Regions from separate parts of the Homo sapiens genome. Here regions 1, 2, 3, 4, 5 and 7 are each linked to region 6. Evidence: promoter capture Hi-C in 16 types of primary human blood cells and fetal thymus (Javierre and others, 2016). All regions are on one chromosome and are shown on one strand. Each heading gives the region's core, a stretch centred on a gene start or on the middle of the fragment in contact. The rest is flanking DNA. Distances are from core to core; before and after follow the strand shown.

What was found. Contacts are between HindIII fragments. The CHiCAGO score rates a contact against its expected background, and 5 or more counts as called.
Region 1: a fragment that was not itself captured here is called in contact with the fragment with the promoter of GBP6 in region 6 in 2 of 17 cell types (activated CD4 T cells and naive CD4 T cells); the score reaches 6.1 in activated CD4 T cells.
Region 2: a fragment that was not itself captured here is called in contact with the fragment with the promoter of GBP6 in region 6 in 9 of 17 cell types (total CD4 T cells, non-activated CD4 T cells, activated CD4 T cells and 6 more); the score reaches 10.5 in total CD4 T cells.
Region 3: a fragment that was not itself captured here is called in contact with the fragment with the promoter of GBP6 in region 6 in 9 of 17 cell types (naive CD8 T cells, activated CD4 T cells, non-activated CD4 T cells and 6 more); the score reaches 10.6 in naive CD8 T cells.
Region 4: a fragment that was not itself captured here is called in contact with the fragment with the promoter of GBP6 in region 6 in 7 of 17 cell types (non-activated CD4 T cells, activated CD4 T cells, total CD4 T cells and 4 more); the score reaches 11.3 in non-activated CD4 T cells.
Region 5: a contact is called between a fragment that was not itself captured here and the fragment with the promoter of GBP6 in region 6, in 4 of 17 cell types (activated CD4 T cells, non-activated CD4 T cells, total CD4 T cells and 1 more). The highest score is 7.6, in activated CD4 T cells.
Region 7: a fragment that was not itself captured here is called in contact with the fragment with the promoter of GBP6 in region 6 in 10 of 17 cell types (activated CD4 T cells, naive CD8 T cells, total CD4 T cells and 7 more); the score reaches 10.8 in activated CD4 T cells.

The regions. Positions count from the first base shown.
Region 1 is chr1:88,926,069-88,929,073 of GRCh38, reverse strand. It overlaps a transcript of KYAT3 not described here. Among named protein-coding and RNA genes, the nearest start is that of GTF2B, 36 kb to the right of the region's middle. The HindIII fragment of the contact is 8,876 bases long and covers 1-3,005 here.
Region 2 is chr1:89,047,440-89,050,369 of GRCh38, reverse strand. The region is part of intron 2 of LOC105378841 (a long non-coding RNA gene); the gene reads right to left. Among named protein-coding and RNA genes, the nearest start is that of GBP1, 16 kb to the left of the region's middle. The HindIII fragment of the contact is 7,509 bases long and covers 1-2,930 here.
Region 3 is chr1:89,026,967-89,029,666 of GRCh38, reverse strand. No RefSeq gene overlaps it. Among named protein-coding and RNA genes, the nearest start is that of GBP3, 5.5 kb to the right of the region's middle. The HindIII fragment of the contact is 5,231 bases long and covers 1-2,700 here.
Region 4 is chr1:89,065,773-89,068,531 of GRCh38, reverse strand. It overlaps LOC105378841 (a long non-coding RNA gene), which reads right to left. Exons shown (of 5, transcript XR_947575.3): 3 at 656-707. Among named protein-coding and RNA genes, the nearest start is that of GBP1, 1.9 kb to the right of the region's middle. The HindIII fragment of the contact is 3,541 bases long and covers 1-2,759 here.
Region 5 is chr1:89,101,620-89,104,605 of GRCh38, reverse strand. It overlaps the pseudogene PTGES3P1. Among named protein-coding and RNA genes, the nearest start is that of GBP2, 23 kb to the left of the region's middle. The HindIII fragment of the contact is 601 bases long and covers 951-1,551 here.
Region 6 is chr1:89,362,568-89,365,354 of GRCh38, reverse strand. It overlaps GBP6 (guanylate binding protein family member 6), which reads right to left and starts at 1,296. Exons shown (of 11, transcript NM_198460.3): 1 at 1,228-1,296. The HindIII fragment of the contact is 2,752 bases long and covers 838-2,787 here.
Region 7 is chr1:88,950,245-88,952,944 of GRCh38, reverse strand. All of the region lies in intron 10 of KYAT3 (kynurenine aminotransferase 3), which reads left to right. Among named protein-coding and RNA genes, the nearest start is that of KYAT3, 41 kb to the left of the region's middle. The HindIII fragment of the contact is 4,519 bases long and covers 1-2,700 here.

The DNA.
Region 1 (3,005 bases), core at 158-2,657, 440 kb after region 6:
TGCTCGTCCATATTGTCCTTCTCTTGCCCAGACTTCAGGATTAATTCCTTCCTCAAGCAGGGGACAACAAACGAGTGTTCCTTCTCCTATGTTCAGGTGTATAATGGCCCCTGCTTTTGCTAGAATGTCTCTCCCTAACAAGGGAGTGGGGCTTTCAGGCATAATTAGAAAAGCATGTGAAAACAGTAAAGCTCCCCAGTCACAACTTAGTGGCTGAGAGAAGTATCTAGTAACTGGCTGTCCTAGGACCCCTCGGATAGTGACAGATCTGGAGGACAGTTGTCCGGGACAGGAGAGTAAGACTGAGAAGGCTGTGCCAGTGTCCAGGAGGCAGTTAACCTCCTGGCCCTCAATGGTCTAGCATACCTGGGGCTCTGTGAGGGTGATGGCATGGGCTGGCACTTGCCCCGGGCACCCTCAGTCCTGCTGCTGGATCATCTGGTTAGTGGCTTCTGACTCAGAGGACCTTCGTCCCCTGGGGCAGTGGGCCTTCCAGTGATTCCCTTGACATAAGGGGCATGGACGAGGGGGTGGCTTACTTCTACTTGGACAATCTTTTTTAAAGTGTCCTTGTAGACCGCACTGGAAGCAAGCCCTATTAGCATTCGATTTGCCCAGCTTTTCTCTTTTCCAGAGCCTCCAAAGTCCGCTTGCCTGAGGGCCATGACTAAAGCGGTGGCCCTTTTTTTTTTATCCCGTTTGTCCCGTTCCTCCTGATCTCTATTATAAAAAACCAACGTTGCCAAGTTCAATAGGGTTTCTAAGTTTTGCTCCAGGCCTAAGGAGGACTTCTGAAGTTTTTTTCTAATGTCTGCAGCTGACTGAGTGAAAAATTTATCCTTTAAGATTAGTTGACCTTCAATAGAGTCAGGTGACAGGGAGGTATGCTTCCTCAATGTCTCCCTTAGTCTCTCCAGAAAGGCAGAAGGATTTTCTTCCTTTCCCTGTGTTATAGTGGACATCATTGAATAATTCATAGGCTTCTTCCTAGTTTTCCTTAGTCCTTCTAGCGCGCAAGTTAGCAAATGTCTGCGGCACCAATCTCCATGTTCTGATTCTGTGTCCCAATGAAGGTCTACAGTGGGAACTGCCTGCTGGCCTGTGGGGAATCATTCTCTTTCCTCTGTTGTCATCCTATCATTGAGCTGACTGAGATACCAGAGATCACCAAACTCTCGGGCTGCAGTTATGGCGGCACTTCTCTCATTTGGGGTTAGTGTCTGATTTAGCAGTAACATATCTCTCCATGTCAAATCAAAGGATTGTCCTAACCCTTCTAAAACATCAATATAGCCATCAGGGTTATCTGAGAATTTACCTAGGTCTATTTTAATTTGCTTTAAGTCTGAGAGAGATAAAGGTACATGCACTCTGGCTGGGCCGAATTCTCCTCCTCCTACTGCTTGGAGGGGGCATAATCGGGGAATACTGGTACTCTTTGGTTCATTGTTTACCCCTTTGTCTATCTCCTCTTGGACCATTTGGGTTGAAGGGGGGTCCTTATTAGTTGGGGAAGGAGTCAGGGGGACACTGGGGTAGGGAGGTAGACTCTGAGGGCTTCCTGTAGGGCATAAATCACACTTTTTACATAATTGCCAGTTGTCTCTTAATGAAAAGAAAGTTTGCACATATGGCACTTCACTCCATTTGCCTTCTTTTCTACAAAAGAGGTCTAGCTGTAAGATGCTGTTATAATTTATACTTCTCTTAGGAGGCCAGGTTTCTCCCCCTTGAAGAGGATATTGTGGCCAGGCAGTACTGCAGAAGAATATAAGTAGTTTCTTTCTTAGCATCTGAGGGTCAAATTGGTCCCAATTCTCCAGAATACATCTTAGGGGCGTTTTTGCCTTGGGGGGAATGTTTCCCATCTGAAAAAAGAACATAGGGATGCCAGCACCCCTAGTCATTTTCTGATGAGCATTAGTCCTAGAGCGTCCTCTATGGTCCTAATGTTTATTCCCTTCCAGGGTGCGTAACCACCCATGGACCTCTGCTTATCGGATTAGTTACGCTTACCGATGTAGCAGTCCTGCACCCCTTTTTCCGTCTTTCTTGACCACAAAGAAATGGGTCCGGGCTGCTGGATTCTAGTGGTCCTTTACCAGCGTGCCCAACATTGCATTTGTGCTCAGGGGTGAGTCCTAGAGCTGGGCTGGGTTCCTGAGTATTTCATAACAACCCAGCTGCCCCATCAAGATTCATTCCCATAAACAACAGTTCTTATGCAAATTTGTTTCAGAGAGGGTGTGGGTAACCTTTTGAGTCAGGATTGAGATAGTCTTTTTTGATTCTGTAAGTACTTTAAGGCTCGGCTAAGTGCAAACAGCTCCCACGTTTGAGGAGACCAATTATTAGGCAATTTTTCTAACTCTGCTTCCACAAGAGTCTCCCTATCAATTACTGAATACCCGTTGTGGTTTTTCCCTCAGTCTCCTGGGAGGAACCATCTATCGGTCAGGGCCAGGTGTGGTGGCTCACATCTGTAATCCTAGCACTTTGGGAGGCCAAGACAGGAGGATCGCTTGAGCCCAGGAGTTTGCGACCAGCCTGGGCAACACAGTGAGATCCTGTCTATACAAAAAGTAAAGAAAAATTAACCAGGTATGGTGGCACACACCTGTACCCTCAACTAATTGTGGGGGTGAGGGGGGTGGATTGCTTGGGCCTGGAAAGTTGAAGTTGCAGTGAGCGCCATAATTGTACCACTGCACTCCAGCCTGGGTGACAGAGCGAGACCCTGTGTCCTGTCCTGAAGGGAGTTCCTCCTAGGTCTGGTCGGACCTTTGTATGGTAATTAAGATTTAAATCCCCTGTTAGGAAATCTGCTGGGTTAAGGGAATTATCAGTGGTTGGTGTTAAATTACCTTTTTCTAACAGAATAGACCCATACTTTAAGATTTTTGAGTTAGTAAGCTACCTGTTTGCTTTTTTGACTTACGATAGTTCTGAACTGGTGAGGTGTGCTCACAATGAGGTTTCCTCTAAAGGCTAATTTTCTACTTTCT
Region 2 (2,930 bases), core at 345-2,844, 320 kb after region 6:
GAAGCACAAGGGTTTTGTAGAGGGAAAGGTTTATTTTTATTCAACTAGGAAGGAGATGGGGGAAAGCATATCTAAAAATTTGTCTCTCAGATCTGGGGGTTGGGGCAGGTTTTATAGACAGAGGGTAATGAGGTAAGATCTGACTGCATCGTGCCATGAGGTGATGTCAGGGCTGGATCTGATCAGATCACAGATTAAGCCCTGAGGTGTCTCCTTCTTAAATCAGCCCTGCTCCTTGGTCCAAGTACTTAGGTTCCACCGTGGTTGCATGCAGAGTGTGTCTGGGCATGCTCAGGTAACATAACTTGAAACCAGGAGACCGTGGCAACAGTAAAACAACGCATTATTTTATTACACAAACTTGAACCACATTGGGCTGGTTCTGCATTTTCAAATCCCCCTTTTTTCATTGTTCATTTCTCAATCTTGAGGGAGAATGGGTGACAGACACTCTGGCACTTCCTGCTGATTAGGGCACAGACCTTGGTTAGAGGTATAAAATTATTTAGCACGGTGTTGTACGACTTCCCTGATATCAGGGTTATGTTTCAAAAGGAGTTGTTTGATTCAATTTTAGGAAAATGCATAAAGTGTTAGCAACTTAAACATTATTTCTTCCAGAGAACAGAAAGAATGCTCAGGTTTAATAGCCAAAGTTCCCACGCAGGTTCCCAATCAGGTCTGTTCATTCAATTGAGAATTAAAACTCCAAACTCACTTAGTTCTGATTGGTCAACCCAGCTGAGTTCTAATGGGTCAATACAGCTGAGCCCTGATTAGCAGAGGCAGGTGGGCTGAAAAGCCCCAAAATAATAAGGTATGTGTTTTGGGTGAACTCAGAACATGTGTGTGTCCCCTCGTTAGCAAATGGTCCCTTGGCTCAACTTGAAATGCAGGCCCAGTTAGCCACTCAGGATGCATCTTGAAAGACTGGCTCAAACTTGTTGGCAGACAGCACTGCATTCCATCACGGCATGGAAGTGATTAGCTACGTGCTTCAGGTTTATCTGGTCTCTTCTAGGGATCCTGGTGGCAGAGCAGTGGCCAATTGAGCAACTAGAGCCATTTACTTACAAAAGGCACTCAGGTACCTGTTAGATTCTAATCAAAGTCTCGTAGGTTATGTTGATTCTGGTTCCTGTCTGGAGTAAATTTAAAATTTCCTGGGTTAGGTCAGCATGATCCAAGCCTCTTGCAGATATCTGTTAAAACAGGCTAGAAGAGCTGGGCGCAGTGGCTCACACCTGTAATCTCAGCACACTGGGAGGCCGAAGTGGGCGGATCACCTGAGGTCAGGAGTTTGAGACCAGCCTGAGCAACATGAAGAAAATGCATCTCTACTAAAAATACAAAACTAGCCGGGTGTGGTGGTGCGTGCCTGTAATCCCAGCTACTCGGGAGGCTGAGGCAGGAGAATCGCTTGAACCAAGGAGGTGGAGGTTGCAGTGAGCCGAGATCCCACCATTGCACTCCAGCCTGGGCAACAAGTGTGAAACTCCATCTCCAAACAAAACAAAACAAACAAACAAAAAAAACAGGCTAGAACAATTCAAAAGAGTACCCAAATGATTAGCCCAAATAGAAGGATCATTAAGATCTGTAGGATGGAACACAGAAGGTATCCTAGACTAGAGACAAAAGCCAGCTGAAAATATCTGGAAATTGTAAATTCAAGCCAGGAAGTCCAGCCAGGAGGCTTTTTGAAGGTGTCCCATTCAGAGATTTAGCTAACTTTAGGATCTTAGATGTGTCCAATTCAATCTAACTAGATGTATTTACCCAGGTGCAGCAGCAAATGTTAGCAACAGCACAAACATCACCCTGTACAGCAAGAAGACAGTCAAAAACAATGTAGTTGTCTAGGACCACATGAGCAAGGGAGTTTGGGACTTCTGCTGTGCTCTGATGGTTTGGCCAGTGGAGCAGTCATTCTATTAACAGTACAAGATTTCTGACCATATTCTCATTCCAAGCAGGGCATAGTCCAAACTCGGACCCCAGTAACCTTCCTGATCTAGCTGCTTCACTAGAGTTAATCCTTCTGGGTAAATCACATCTTTGGTAATATCCCCAGCTATAATCTAAGAGATTATCATTGGTGTTCAGTTGTGTCTCCAAGACTCTCAGGTAGCTCTTTGGGTAGCAGTGGTGAGACTAGCTGAATAGATTAAAAATTGGGTTATTCATTTCTGTAGCCAAATCTCCTGGTGAGGATAACTTAAGTACTATTTTTGCCTTTTGGGAGAAGGAAATATGGGCCTGATAGGTTTCTAAGAAGTCTCTTCAGGCTGAAGTGCTTCGTCACTATTTCTTTATCCCACCAAATATTCCCTTATCAGACCTTGAAACCCCATCTCTCCCACATCCTGTTTGTCCTATATTCTTAAAATTCCCACATGAAACACCTTCTTTCCGTGATGATTGATGGTGTGTTGTTTCCATGACCTAATCCAGACTGATTCACCAACATTTTTTATAAGAATAAAATTCTAATACAGAATGATTCCAACATTCCCGAAAGTGTTCACTGTTCTGTGCCCCTACACTTTTCCCACAGTATGAGTACTGGGTAAAAACAGATGAGTGATTTGACTAGAAGATGGTGTCTATAAAGCCATGGTCTGATGACATTGATTTAGATCATTTTTATTCTATACAGATACACAATGCTATGTAACTTCTTCGTATATTCTCTCATCCTGAAAATATGTTTTATAAATATGTATGAAATTTCAAAACAGGCCTGGCATGGTGCCTCATGCCTATAATGCCAGCACTTTGGGAGGCCAAGGCAGGTGGATCGCTTGAATCTAGGAGTTTGAGACCAGCCTGGGAAACATGGCGAGACCCCATCTCTACAGAAAAAAATAAAAATAAATAAAAAAAATTAGTCAGAGGTTGTTGTGCACACCTGTGTTCCCATCTACTCA
Region 3 (2,700 bases), core at 129-2,628, 340 kb after region 6:
AAATGTTAGACCTAAAATCATAAACGCCCTAGAAGAAAACCTGGGCAATACCATTCAGGACATAGGCATGGACAAGGACTTCATGACTAAAACACCAAAAGCAACGGCAACAAAAGCCAAAATTGACAAATGGGATCTAATTAAACTAAAGAGCTTCTGCACAGCAGAAGAAACTTCCATCAGAGTGAACAGGCAACCTACAGAATGGGAGACCATTTTTGCAATCTACCCATCTGACAAATGGCTAATACCCAGAATCTACAAAGAACTTAAACAAATTTACAAGAAAAAAACAAACAACCACATCAAAAAGTGGGCAAAGGATATGTCTTATTTTGAGAGAAGTCTCAAAAGAAGACATTTTTGCAGCCGACACATGAAAAAATGCTCATCATCACTAGTCATCAGAGAAATGCAAATCAAAACCACAATGAGATACCATCTCACACCAGTTAGAAAGGCGTTCACTAAAAAGTCAGGAAACAGCAGTTGCTGGAGAGGATTGGAGAAATAGGAATGCTTTTACACTGTTGGTGGGAGTGTAAACTAGATAAACCATTGTGGAAGACAGTATGGTGATTCCTCAAGGATCTAGAACTAGAAATACCATTTGACCCAGCCATCCCCTTACTGGGTATATACCTAAAGGATTATAAATCATGCTACTATAAAGACACATGCACATATGTGTTTATTGCGGCACTATTCACAATAGCAAAGACTTGGAACCAACCAAAATGTCCATCTATGATAGACTGGATTATGAAAATGTGGCACATATACACCATGGAATACTTTGCAGCCATAAAAAAGGATGAGTTCATGTCCTTTGCAGGGATATGGATGAAGCTGGAAACCATCATTCTAAGCAAACTATCACAAGGACAGAAAATCTAACACTGCATTTTCTCACTCATAGGTGGGAATTGAACAGTGAGAACACTGGGACATGGGGTGGGGAACATTACACACCAGGGCCTGTCGTGGGGTGGGGGGCAGGGGGAGGGAAAGCATTAGGAGAAACACCTAATGTAAATGACAAGTTAATGGGTGCAGCAAACCAACATGGCACATGTATACCTATGTAACAAACCTGCACATTGTGCACATGTACCCTCTAACTTAAAGTATAATTTAAAAAGTGCATGCAATCCTTTATCTTTACTTTTCATAATAGCTATATTGTCATATGATATAGTTATACTACTGTCCACAAATACTGTCCAATAGAATGTTGCAAACATCCAGAACGAGTATATTCCACTTTCTCACAGAAAGATTGTTTTCAGGTGGCAAGAAATGAAAACATTTACAAACTTTCAGGGTTTTCTATAATACCTTCAACTCATAATAATCGTTAATTGATTAGTATTTGTCCAATCTCATGAAAAACTTACAATACTGGACTAGTATTTGGGGGTCTGGTTTTTTTCCAAATATTTTTATATTTTTTGTTTTGATTAATTCATTCTACTCTATTTTGAATACAGATGACACATTTGTCTTTTTTTGATTTTGGCTTTTTTCCAGATAGTCATGTAAAAATGAATCAAATTCAGCAAATAGTTTCATGATTCTCATGAAATATCCATTATTCCAGGAATGTCACTTTCAATCATAACCTCATGTAGACCAAGCCTCAATTAAAATACAATAATTGCCACTATTCATTCAAAATGATAACAAATGTTCTTCAACACTTTGGTAAGTGCTTTTATTTGATTTACATTGAATTAAAAAAACTCAAGCCTTCATATGCTCCGTGGAGTCTTTAACATATTTTGAGAGTTCTTCTATATTCACTCAGTTGGAAAACCATGCCTTGTAAATAAATCTGTTCTTGTAAATATTATTTACCAACTAAACACCATATGCAGACTTTTAGTTCTGGGATATGCCAACCAAGATCTCATAATAGTTTGAACATTTTAAAATTTGTGAATAGTGTTTATTATCTCAGGGACAAATGCACGAGTAGGTAGTCCCAACACCGAGTGCTCCAGTCCCTCACCTTAAAGAGCTTCAAGAATGACACCAAAGGATTCCACCAATCCTGAATCAACCTTCTATCATTTCCCAGTAAAGTAGATGGGCAGAGAAATTCAGATATTAACTACTAATATTTGCTTCTTAAGGACACATATCCATGTTACACTTGCAAGAACAGGTCTAAAGAGTCTGTTACATATTGTTTTCCCTCCAAGAAGGAGACACAGAATTCCAGCTGTTAACTATGCAGCCATAAAAAGGAACGAGATCATGTCCTTTGCAGGGTCATGGATGGAGATGGAAGTTGGAAGCCATTATCCTCAGCAAACTAACACAGAAACACAAAACCAAACACCCTGTGTTCTCACTTATAAGTGGGAGCTGAATAATGAGAACACATGGACACATGGTGAGGAACATACACACTGGGGCCTGTTGGGGTGGGATTTTGGGAAGGGACAGCATTACGAAGAGTAGCTAAGGTATGCTGGGCTTAATACCTAGGTGATGGGATGATCTGTGCAGCAAACCACCATGGCACACATTTACCTGTGTAACAAACCTGCACATCCTGCACATGTACCCCTGAACTTAAGAGTTGAAGTATAAAAAAATAAATAAATAAAAAACTAGAAAAAAAGTCTATGGCCTAAGAAGGACTTTACACAAATATACTGTGGCTCTGTAAAATAATTTCTCTTTTTTAAGAAA
Region 4 (2,759 bases), core at 90-2,589, 300 kb after region 6:
GAGTCATGCAGCTAGAGGCCACAAGATTCCAGACCTCTCCAATTGCCATCCAGGTCAATAAACTGGCTCATCTGGTCTTGTGGCCCCCAGCCAGGAACCAACTCATGCAAGAGGACAACTTTGATGCCCTGTGATTTCATCCCTAACCCAGCCAATCAGCACTCCCCACTCCCCAACCTCCTACCCACCAAATTATCCTCAGAAACCCCCATACCCACATTATCAGGGAGAATCTTTTGAGTAATAATAAAACTTGAGAATCCCATACAGCCAGCTCTGCGTGAATTAAACGCTTTCTCTACTGCAATTCCCCTGTCTTGATAAATCAGCTCTACCTAGGCAACAGGCAAGGAGAACCTGTTGGGCAGTTATGGAGCCTCTGCTCTATGAGTGGGACTGGGAAAGTTTGGGAGCCCTTGACTTCTGGTCACACTCACCAGAAATTTAGTCTTTACAACTCACTATTGGAGGGGATGAAAAATTCTGGTGGACTGGCACTCCTGATAGGATATGTCATCCCTGCTCAGAATGTGAGAGAAGAGGCAGCCCCACCTTCTTTCCATAGCCCCCAGTAGTGGACCTTTTGTCAACCCGAACTGAAAATGAGGATGAAGAGGCCCAAGGGTCAAGTGCCACAGATTCTTGTTATTCTTACCGGAGTTATAGGAGCTCTCCTTGAATAGATGTTTCATTGTGATGTATGCTTCCTGTGGGGAAAAGCAAGAGAGATCAGATTGTCACTGTGTCTGTGTAGAAAGAAGTAGACATGGGAGACTCCATTTTGTTATGTACTAAGAAAAATTCTTCTGCCTTGAGATTCTGTGACCTTACCCCCAACCCCGTGCTCTCTGAAACATGTGCTGTGTCAAACTCAGGGTTAAATGGATTAAGGGCGGTGCAAGATGTGCTTTGTTAAACAGATGCTTGAAGGCAGCACGCTCCTTAAGAGTCATCACCACTCCCTAATCTCAAGTACCCAGGGACACAAAAACTGTGGAAGGCCTCAGGGACCTCTGCCTAGGAAAGCCAGGTATTGTCCAAGGTTTCCCCCCATGTGATAGTCTGAAATATGGCCTTGTGGGAAGGGAAAGACCTGACCGTCCCCCAGCCCGACACCCGTAAAGGGTCTGTGCTGAGGAGGATTAGTATAAGAGGAAGGCATGCCTCTTGCAGTTGAGACAAGAGGAAGGCATCTGTCTCCTGCCCGTCCCTGGGCAATGGAATGTCTCGGTATAAAACCCGATTGTATGTTCCATCTACTGAGATAGGGAAAAACCACCTTAAGGCTGGAGGTGGGACATGCGGGCAGCAATACTGCTTTGTAAAGCATTGAGATGTTTATGTGTATGCGTATCTAAAAGCACAGCACTTAATCCTTTACCTTGTCTATGATGCAAAGACCTTTGTTCACGTGTTTGTCTGCTGACCCTCTCCCCACAATTGTCTTGTGACCCTGACACATCCCCCTCTCGGAGAAACACCCACGAATGATCAATAAATACTAAGGGAACTCAGAGGCTGGCGGGATCCTCCATATGCTGAACGCTGGTTCCCCGGCTCCCCTTATTTCTTTCTCTCTACTTTGTCTCTGTGTCTTTTTCTTTCCTAAGTCTCTCGTTCCACCTTACGAGAAACACCCACAGGTGTGGAGGGGCAACCCACCCCTACACTTCCAGGACAATCTGCAGAGATTTTAAATGGTTCAAATAATTTTGACAGATGTAAGAATGTTATGCTCTAAAAAGTAAAAGACTTTAAAGTAGTTTTAATAATAAAGGAGCTACAGTGTTAAGGAAGGATGATAGAAAGAGTTTAGATAAAATTATTTTACAAAGTATGAATGAGAAAAGACACTGTATCTGCAATTTATATACATCTAATATATAATTTTAATGTGTAAGTGAGAAATGCTTGGCCAGGCCTGGTGGCTCACACTTGTAATCCCAGCACTTTGGGAGGCCAAGGTGGGTGGATCATCTGAGGTCGGGAGTTCGAGACCAGCCTGACCACCATGGAGAAACCCCATCTCTACTAAAAATACAAAATTAGCCAGGATAGTGGTACATGCCTGTAGTCCCAGCTACTTGGGAGGCTGAGGCAGGAGAATTGATTGAACCCAGGAGGCGGAGGTTGCAGTGAGCCGAGATCGTGCCACTGCACTCCAGCCTGGGCAACAAGAGTGAAACTCCATCTCAAAAAAAAAAAAAAAAAAAAAGAAAAAGAAAAAGAAAAAAAAAGAAATGCTCACACAAGGTTGGGTCTGGTGGCTCATGCCTATAATCCCAGCAATTTGGGAGGCCGAGGCAGGGGGATCATTTGAAGGAAGGAGTTCAAGACCAACCTAAGCAACAAAGTGAAACCACATCACTATAAATATATTTTTAAATGAAATGTTCACTCAGGCTTTTTACTATTTTATTTGCTTTTGCTGTAAAATAGAGATAATGCCACTTATTCTGTATGCTAGAAGTCATTACTGAATTAGACATAAAACACAAACAGCTCTTAGAAAACAATCTATAAAAATAAAATCACACTATAATAAATTTAAAAATAAAAAACCTATAAATAAAATATTTCTACAATTTTTCACTTAGTAAATAAGCAGCATAGTGAAGTGGTTCAAGAAGAGGGTATGGGATCATGAGTGCTTGGGTTCAGATTAGTTACAGTGTTATGATTTTAGACAACTAATAAAGTCTTTCTGTGCTCAGTTTCTATAAAACCATGAGGAAATATTATGAGTTTTCAGTTGTGCG
Region 5 (2,986 bases), core at 2-2,501, 260 kb after region 6:
CTTTTTCACTGTATTGATACAAACGATTCCAAGCATAAAAGAACGGACAGATCAATTTTATGTTGTTTACGAAAAGGAGAATCTGGACAGTCATGGCCAAGGTTAACAAAAGAAAGGGCAAAGCTTAATTGGCTTAGTGTTGACTTCAATAATTGGAAAGACTGGGAAGATGATTCAGATGAAGACATGTCTAATTTTGATCGTTTCTCTGAGATGATGAATAACATGGGTGGTGATGAGGATGTAGATTTACCAGAAGTAGATGGAGCAGATGATGATTCACAAGACAGTGATGATGAAAAAATGCCAGATCTGCAGTAAGGAATATTGTCATCACCTGGGTTTTGAGAAAGAAAAATAACTTCTCTGCAAGATTTCATGATTGAGAGAATTCCTGAGTTGATCTAAAAGCAGATGCTGTAGCTGCCTACTTTAACCCATTTTTCAACCTGTTTGTTTTTTAAAGGGCTTCACTAAGGGTTGATATGTACCATTGTAGGGGGCAATTTTAAGTCAGCTAAGGCAATAACCTTATGCATGAACATTTCCCAGACTTTCATGAAGCTGTTGAGGTCCTAGGCAATTAATGCGGCAGTTGTGATAAATAAAAACATCTCACCTAAGTCTCCTTTTCTTCATAATATAGATACTGACATGATGATAGGAAGCTCTCAGCTTAGGGAAAGAGAGCTAAATTTTAGATTATAGAACATGGATTCAAAAGTGGCTGAACAAATTGGCTGACACCTTACTGGTAACCTGCTATTCCTCTGGTGTTATCCTTCAGGATTGTTCCACTAAAATTTATTTTTCAAAAAATTTACTTCACATTATTCTATGTAAGTGATCACTTGTCAGTGTTCCAGGTGTATATTAGCTAAAATTAGAGAATGCCCTAACTTAGATGGTTTTTGAAGCCTGTACATTTGGTATTGTTTGACCCTTAAGCTTTTACATCTCTTAGCATGGAAGACGAAGAAAGCTGTACATTGTTGCTTGAGAGTCTGTACATTTAGTCCAGATTTGTATTTGCATTGTCAGTATGGCAAATGAGTGAAAAATGTTTAATACACTATTGTATTTTTTTTTTTTGAGAGTCTCTCTCTGTCACCCAGGCTGGAGTGCAGTGGCCCGATCTCTGCTCACTGCAAGCTCCACATCCCGGGTTCACACCATTCTCCTGCCTCAGCCTCCCGAGTAGCTGGGACTACAGGCGCCTGCCACCATGCCCGGCTAATTTTTTGTATTTTTTAGTAGAGATGGGGTTTCACCGTGTTAGCCAGGATGGTCTCGATCTCCTGACCTCGTGATCTGCCCCCCTCAGCCTCCCAAAGTGCTGGGATTACAGGCATGAGCCACCGCGCCCGGCCGGATTTTTTCTTTTTTTGATTCAGCTTATACCAGGGCTGAAAACCTCAATTTATGTTCATGACAGTGGGGATTTTTTTAAATGCCTACATTCTTTCTAATAAACTGTTGGAAGACTTTAAAAAAAAAGTCTTAGTAGTATATTTGCTGTAAAATGAGGATGATAACTTACATCAACAAGCTTGTACTGAGGAATAAATTAAATTTCATAAATAATACCTATAAAGAATTTAACACAATATCTACTGTATAATAGGCACTAAATGTAATATATATATATATAATATATATATATATATTTTTTTTTTTTTAGGCAGAGTCTCACTCTGTCACCCAGGCTGGAGTGTAGTGACGCAATCTCAGCTCACTGCAATTTCTGCCTCCCGGGTTGAAGCAATTCTCCTGCCTCCACCTCCCAAGTGGCTGGGATGATAGGCACACATCACCATGCCCAGATAATTTTTGTATTTTTAGTACAGACGGGTTTCGCCATGTTGGCCAGCCTGGTCTGGAACTCCTGACCTCAAGTGATCTGCCTGCCTCAGCCTCCCAAAGCACTGGGATTATAGGCGTGAGCCACTGCACCCAGCCTGAATGCAATATACTTTTTATTATAACACTAACCCAGGGTTCAATGCTGCAATGAAACTTATGTATTATAAGGTGAAAGTATGATTTAAAAATTACTACATGAAAATATAATTCATCTCAGTAATATTTAAAAACTTATGAAAATAGCATGCCATTTTCCACCTCTCAATTTAGTTAATATTAAAAAGCCTTATTCCACCTGTTTCGGGGGGTGGTGAAGGGATGGAGGCAAATTTATTAATACATCTCAAAAGCCTTTAATAAGAACATCATCTCTGACCTTCATGCTCCACTCCCAGTTTCATTCTTTTAATCAAAATACATATGGAAGGCTACATCCTTAATTTGGTGCTAGGTACTCATCAGTATATAAGACATGTCCTTTCCTTCACTTGCTGCATCTCTAAGTGACTAACCTGTTCCAATATGAGTATGTCAAATATTTGAGGAAGTTAGACTTAAAAACAATATGATTCCTCCTCATTCTTGGCTTTTCAAAATGTCACCCAAACCTGAAGTAAGTGAGATTATATTTCACATGATATGATGGACTTTTAAAAACAACAACAAATGGTATCTAAGATTTCTTCCAAAAATAAAATTTGAAGATGTTAATGCAACTACTAGCACAGCTCCCAGAAAATTCTTTATAGTTTTAATCCACTGCTTTGCACTCAGGACTTTCAGATTTAGTTTGTCTAGTCTATTGCAGAAGTTTCTTGTTATCTTTCCTTCTAATTGTCTGTTCTCAGAAGGTAACTTGGAAAGCTCCAGGACATTATAGGGGTGAAATAAAAACACAAAGATCCAGCCAGATATAAGGTCAAGATCCTTATCTGGAATATGTATCAAATATAATGGAGAAGGCAAAATTGCATCTTGAGCAGACACAACTTGATTATGAATAGAAGTGTTCTCTGCAACCTTAAAAAATAGTCCCTTTGAAGTGCATTTAATATTGTAGTTCCATTTGCAAAGTAAATTTCTTCCTATTAAACATGCAGGGGTGGTATCACAAGGTAGGAAG
Region 6 (2,787 bases), core at 47-2,546:
TTTAAAGTGAACAATAAAGGCAGCTCTAGGAAGATGTGGCTGCTCCTGCAAACAACTTTATATAAACCAGGTCTCTGGTTTCTTAGCTGTGTGGGAACCACAGACCTTTTAACTTCTACTAAATGAAATACAGCTGTTCAATCCTATTCAGGACTGGTTTTCACACTCTGATGTACATAAGAATCACCTGATCACTCTGATGATAGTTTCTTTTGCTGTGCAGAAGCTCTTTAATTAGATCCCATTCTCAGCAAACTAACACAGGAACAGAAAACCAAAAACTGCGTGTTCTAACTGGTAAGTGGGAGTTGAACAATGAGAACATGTGGACACGGGCGGCGGGGGGTTGGCGCTGGGGGTGGGGGTGGGAAACTCACACACTGGGGCCTGTCAGTGGGTGGAGGGCAAGGGGAGGGAGAGCATTAGGACAAATACCTAATGCATGCGGGGCTTAAAACCTAGATGACGGATTGATAGGTGCAGCAAACCACCATGGGACATGGTGGTTTTTAAAAAAATCTTTTTTATTTTAAACATAGTGTCTATTCTTCATCTTTTTTTTTTTTAAAGAATCAACTGAGAGGATTGTTCAAACCCAGATTCCCAGGCCTAAGTATCCATCTGTTTAGCAAGAGCTACAAGAGACTCTGATGTTCCTATGGGAAACTAACACCCCCCTCCTCCCCCACCCCCTCCCCACACACACATACACACACACACACACACACGCACACACAGAGTTTGGACTATATAATTATTTTTAAGTAATAAAGACCAGTGATGTGGGGCCTAAGTTTATTTCTACATAGAGATTTATAGAGCTCTTATTCTGAAGCTTTCCTAAGTGTGACCACTAGAAAGATAGACAAGAAACTCTCCCTTCCGGTATAATTGCCTGGAAGCTCCTTGTTCTCTGCATTCTGGGGCTTGCCGCAGGACCTGAGAGAGATAGCCAGGCAGGCGCCCACCAGGGCTCATTCCAGGCCACTCACTGCTGTCCTGAGTTGATGATCAGGGAACAGCACATCCAGGGGGACGCGGCGTGCCCGGCTGTCACTGGTTCAAGTGGAGAAGCTGAGCTTCCCCAGAACTAAAGCCAGCCACAGACTCCTGCAGGCCAGGCAGCAGGCACCCTGCCCTTCCTGCCCATTCCTCAGTTACCACTCTGAATCAGAAACCAAGTCTTGAGTTAGGAACTAAGTTGCATTTAAAAGAAAGTGAACATACCTGCTCTATAGCACCGCAGGTCCAAGAACAGTTTTCAGTTGCCTCACTCACCTCTTGTTTTCTTTCCTCCTTTTACTTTTCTGTTCTTTCCTTTATAAAAGGAAAAAAAAGCTGAGTAAGCTAGTTGTTTCCACAAATGGGATGGTGCAGTAAAAATAAACTTGGAAGTAAAATTAATCCATGCTTTTAATAAAGTGTTAGCAGAGCCATGCCTGAATCATCCGATGTGAGTTTGAGGATGGGTGTTGGGTGCAGGGGTGGGAGGAGGTCAGAAAAAGCCACAGATACTGCACAGTCACACCTTAGCAAGCACAATCCTGCCAGCTTTCTTTTGTCTTTCCCATCTTAGAAGGCTTCACAGGCTTTCTTCTTGATACCGTTCCCAGGTGGCTTTAGTTTCCTAGGCACACAAGAAAAACAGGAAATCTACAGTAGTCACATAAGCAAAGCCTTAGAAACCAAGAATATTTTAAGCATTTTTCTCTTAGTGGGAATTCTTGAGTTCTGGGGTCTTTTGTTAGTGAAGAACTTTTGATATTTTAAATGTGTTCACACATGCACACACACACACAGAAGAGAGAGAGAGAAAGAGAGAGAGCTAAAGATATTACTGGTTTAAAAAAAGAATGAACCATGTCTTTTACAGCAACATGGATGGAACTGGAGTTCATTATCTTAGGTGAAACAACTCAGAAACCGAAAGTCAAATACCACATTCTTACTCATAAGTGGAAGCTAAAAAATCTGCATACATGGACATAGAAGGTGGAATGTGCAGTGCATAACAGTGTACAAGCTCCTATGAGAATCTAATGCTGCTGCTGATCTGACAGGAGGCAGGTCTCAGGCCTTAGTGCTCTCTCCCTACTCACCTCCTGTGTGGCCCAGTTTCTAACAGACCATGCTCTGGGGGTTTGGGACCCTTGATGTGGACTATTTATCCAACAACCCACAGTTTCCATTGGTTGAGTCTTATCCCCAGGGACTTTAACTATTTTGAATTCACAAGCTGCCCTTGGGCAAAATAGACACCCTTTCACAGCTTGGAGAAACATCTGAGTGAGAAAAGGAGAAAGACTCTCTACAGAGGACATAGCAGCATGCTGGGACTGTCTACCATGGCTGCACTGCTAAATGGATTTGAGAACAGAAGCAAGTGGCAGAATGAGCAGACATGAGTTTTGGCAATAACTTAGGCTGAGGATTTGGGGAGTGTGGTAGACTAATCTGAATACTCTATTCAGACAAAGACTTGTGTTAAAAATGTAAAATTCTGGGCCAGGTGCGGTGGCTCACTCCTGTAATCCCAGCACTTTGGGAGGCCGAGGCGGGCGGATCACGAGGTCAGGAGATCAAGACCATCCTGGCTAACAGGGGGAAACCCTGTCTCTCTCTACTAGAAATACAAAAAAATTAGCCGGGTGTGGTGGCGGGCACCTGTAGTCCCAGCTCCTCAGGAGACTGAGGCAGGAGAATGGTGTGAACCTGGGAGGCAGAGCTTGCAGTGAGCCGAGATTGTGCCACTGCACTCCAGCCTGGGCGACAGAGCGAGACTCCATC
Region 7 (2,700 bases), core at 177-2,676, 410 kb after region 6:
TATAATTTGGAATTTGGGGAGCAGATACATATTCACTGTTATCAAGCATGGTTTGGGTTTTTTTTTAAACACAATTTTAGCTGTGTTAAACATTGCTGGCAGGAATCTAAAGTGCTACAAATTCTGTGAAGGACAATGGCAACACCAAACAAAATTACACATGTGTTTGCCCCATGAAAGCAATCCATCTTCTAAGAATTTACCCTAAAGTTGTGTTTTAGTCCGTTCTTGCACTTAGGTAAAGAAATACCTGAGACTTAGTAATTTATAAAGAAAAGAGGTTTACTTGGCTCATGGTTCTACAGGCTGTACAGAAAGCATAGTGGCTTCTGCTTCTGGAGAGGCCTTAGAAAACTTACAATAATGGTGGAAGGCAAAGAGGGAGTAGGCATGTCTCACAGGGCTGGAGCAGGAGGGAGAGAAGTGGGGAGGTGCAACACACTTTTAAACAACCGTATCTCACAATAACTCACTCTCATGAGAACAGCATCAAGGGGATGGTGCTAAACCATTCATGAGAAACCACTCCCATGATCCAATCACCTCCCACCAGGCCCCACCTCCAACATTGAGGATTACAACTGGACACTAGATTTGGATGAAGACACAGATCCAAACCATATCAAGCTATCTGCACATGTAAGAAGTTACGTACTTACCTGGCTATTCATTGCAGATGATTGAGGAGAATCCATTATCATCTACAGACGATTGATTACATAAACCATGATCTATCCAAACATTGAAATGTTATATGACCATATTAAGTTTCCTACTGGTGCTATAACAAATTACCACAAACTTAGTGACTTAAAACAACACAAATTTATTATCCTACGGTTCTTCAGCTCAGAAGTCAGAAATGGGTCTTAAAGGGCTAAAATCAAGGTGCTGGCATTGCTGTGTTCCTTCTGAAGGCTCTAGGAGAGTCTGTCCTCTGCTTCCGTCAACACATTTCCTGTGGCTTCAACCCTCCTGCCTCCCTTTTTCCCTTATAAGCACCTTTGAGATAACATTGGGCCCAATGGATAATCTGTCCAATTAATTAAGGATAATCTCCTTAATTTCAATCACATCTGCAAAGTTCCTTTCACCATGCAAGGTAACATATTTACAAGTTCTGGGTTTTAAGACCTAGAAGTCATTGGGACCCATTACTCTGTCTACTGGCTGCTAAAGAGAAAAGAAACAAGAAAGAAAATAGGGAAATACTATAATTACTGTACTGAGATAAAAAAGATTTCTAGAATACATCATAAAGTAAAAAAGAAAAACTATTTAAATATTATTTAATATTTAATATTTTTAATATATATTATGGAAATAGGGATTTAGTTACCATCATTCTATGGATAATCAAAATGCTGAAAAAAATAGTATTTTTCTAGAAGGCAGTTAAAAGGGCAAAAGAACCAGGCACAATGGCTCACGCCTATAATCCCAACACTTTGGGAGGCCAAGGTGAGCGGATCACCTGAGGCCAGGAGTTCGAGACCAGCCTGGCCAACATGGCAAAACCCTGTCTCTACTAAAAGTACAAAAATTAGCTGGGCATGGTGGCAGGCGCCTGTAATCCCAGCTACTCAGGAGGCTGAGGCAGGAGAATTGCCTGAATCCAGGAGACAGAGGTTGCAGTGAGCTGAGATCGTGTCACTACACTCCAGCCTGGGCAACAACAGCAAGACTTCGTCTCAAAAAAAAAAAAGAAAAGAAAGAAAAAAAAGATGTTGATAGATATGAAGAAGAAAGATAAAATAGGGAAGAGGAAGGATATAAAGCTCCAGGTGGGAGATATACAGTGTTAAATAGGGTAATCTTTGAAAGCCTCCCTGATAAGGTAACATTTGAACAACTAACTGAAGGGGATTAAGCAGCCACATGGTTACCTAGAGAAAAACCCCTTTGGACAGAGAGAACAAGCGGAAAGGCCCAGTGGTAGACAGCCTGGCTGGCATGTTAATATCAGAGAACAGCACAGAGACTGGAATGGAATGATTGAGAGAAGAGTAGGAAAAGCTAAGATCAGAGAGGTAGCTGGGAGTCCAATGGAGCTGGGGCATGCATGTCACTGTAAGGACTGAGTGAGATAGGAAGTCACTAGAGAGTTTTGAACTCAGGAGTGACTTGGTCTGGCTTGTGTTAGCAAATGGACTCTGACTGCCTCATTGAGTGAGAAAGCTGTTACAGTGATCCAAGAGAGAAATGCCAGTGCATTGAACAAAGATGGGGGTGGTAGAAGCAGTAAAAAGTGATTGGACTCTGAATATATTTTGAAAGTAGAGCCAACATTATTTGTCAATAGGTTACATATGGGATATGTGAAAAAGAAAGGAGTCCAGGATAATGCTGTAGTTAGGATGGATGTTTATGTCTCCTTATACTTGGAATTTTCTAAGGCAGTATCTCCTATAGTAAATGAACAAGTTGCCAAGAGAAAAAAAAAAAAAGATATAGCTAAGAATGCAGAACATCTTTTTCTGAACACTCTTATTCTCCATTTCAGCTAGGTGCTCTGTTTTGTCCTGGGACAACCATGTTTGGTTCCAGGAAACCACAGATTTCCAGGCTAAGGCAATCGATCCTTATTTTCCAAGATTTTGTAGTACTGGAGATTTATTACTAATTCTGTTTTACTGCATTCTTTTGGCATAAAATCTCTGTGATCTTGCCCCTCTCTGTCTCCAGTCTCATCTCTTGCCA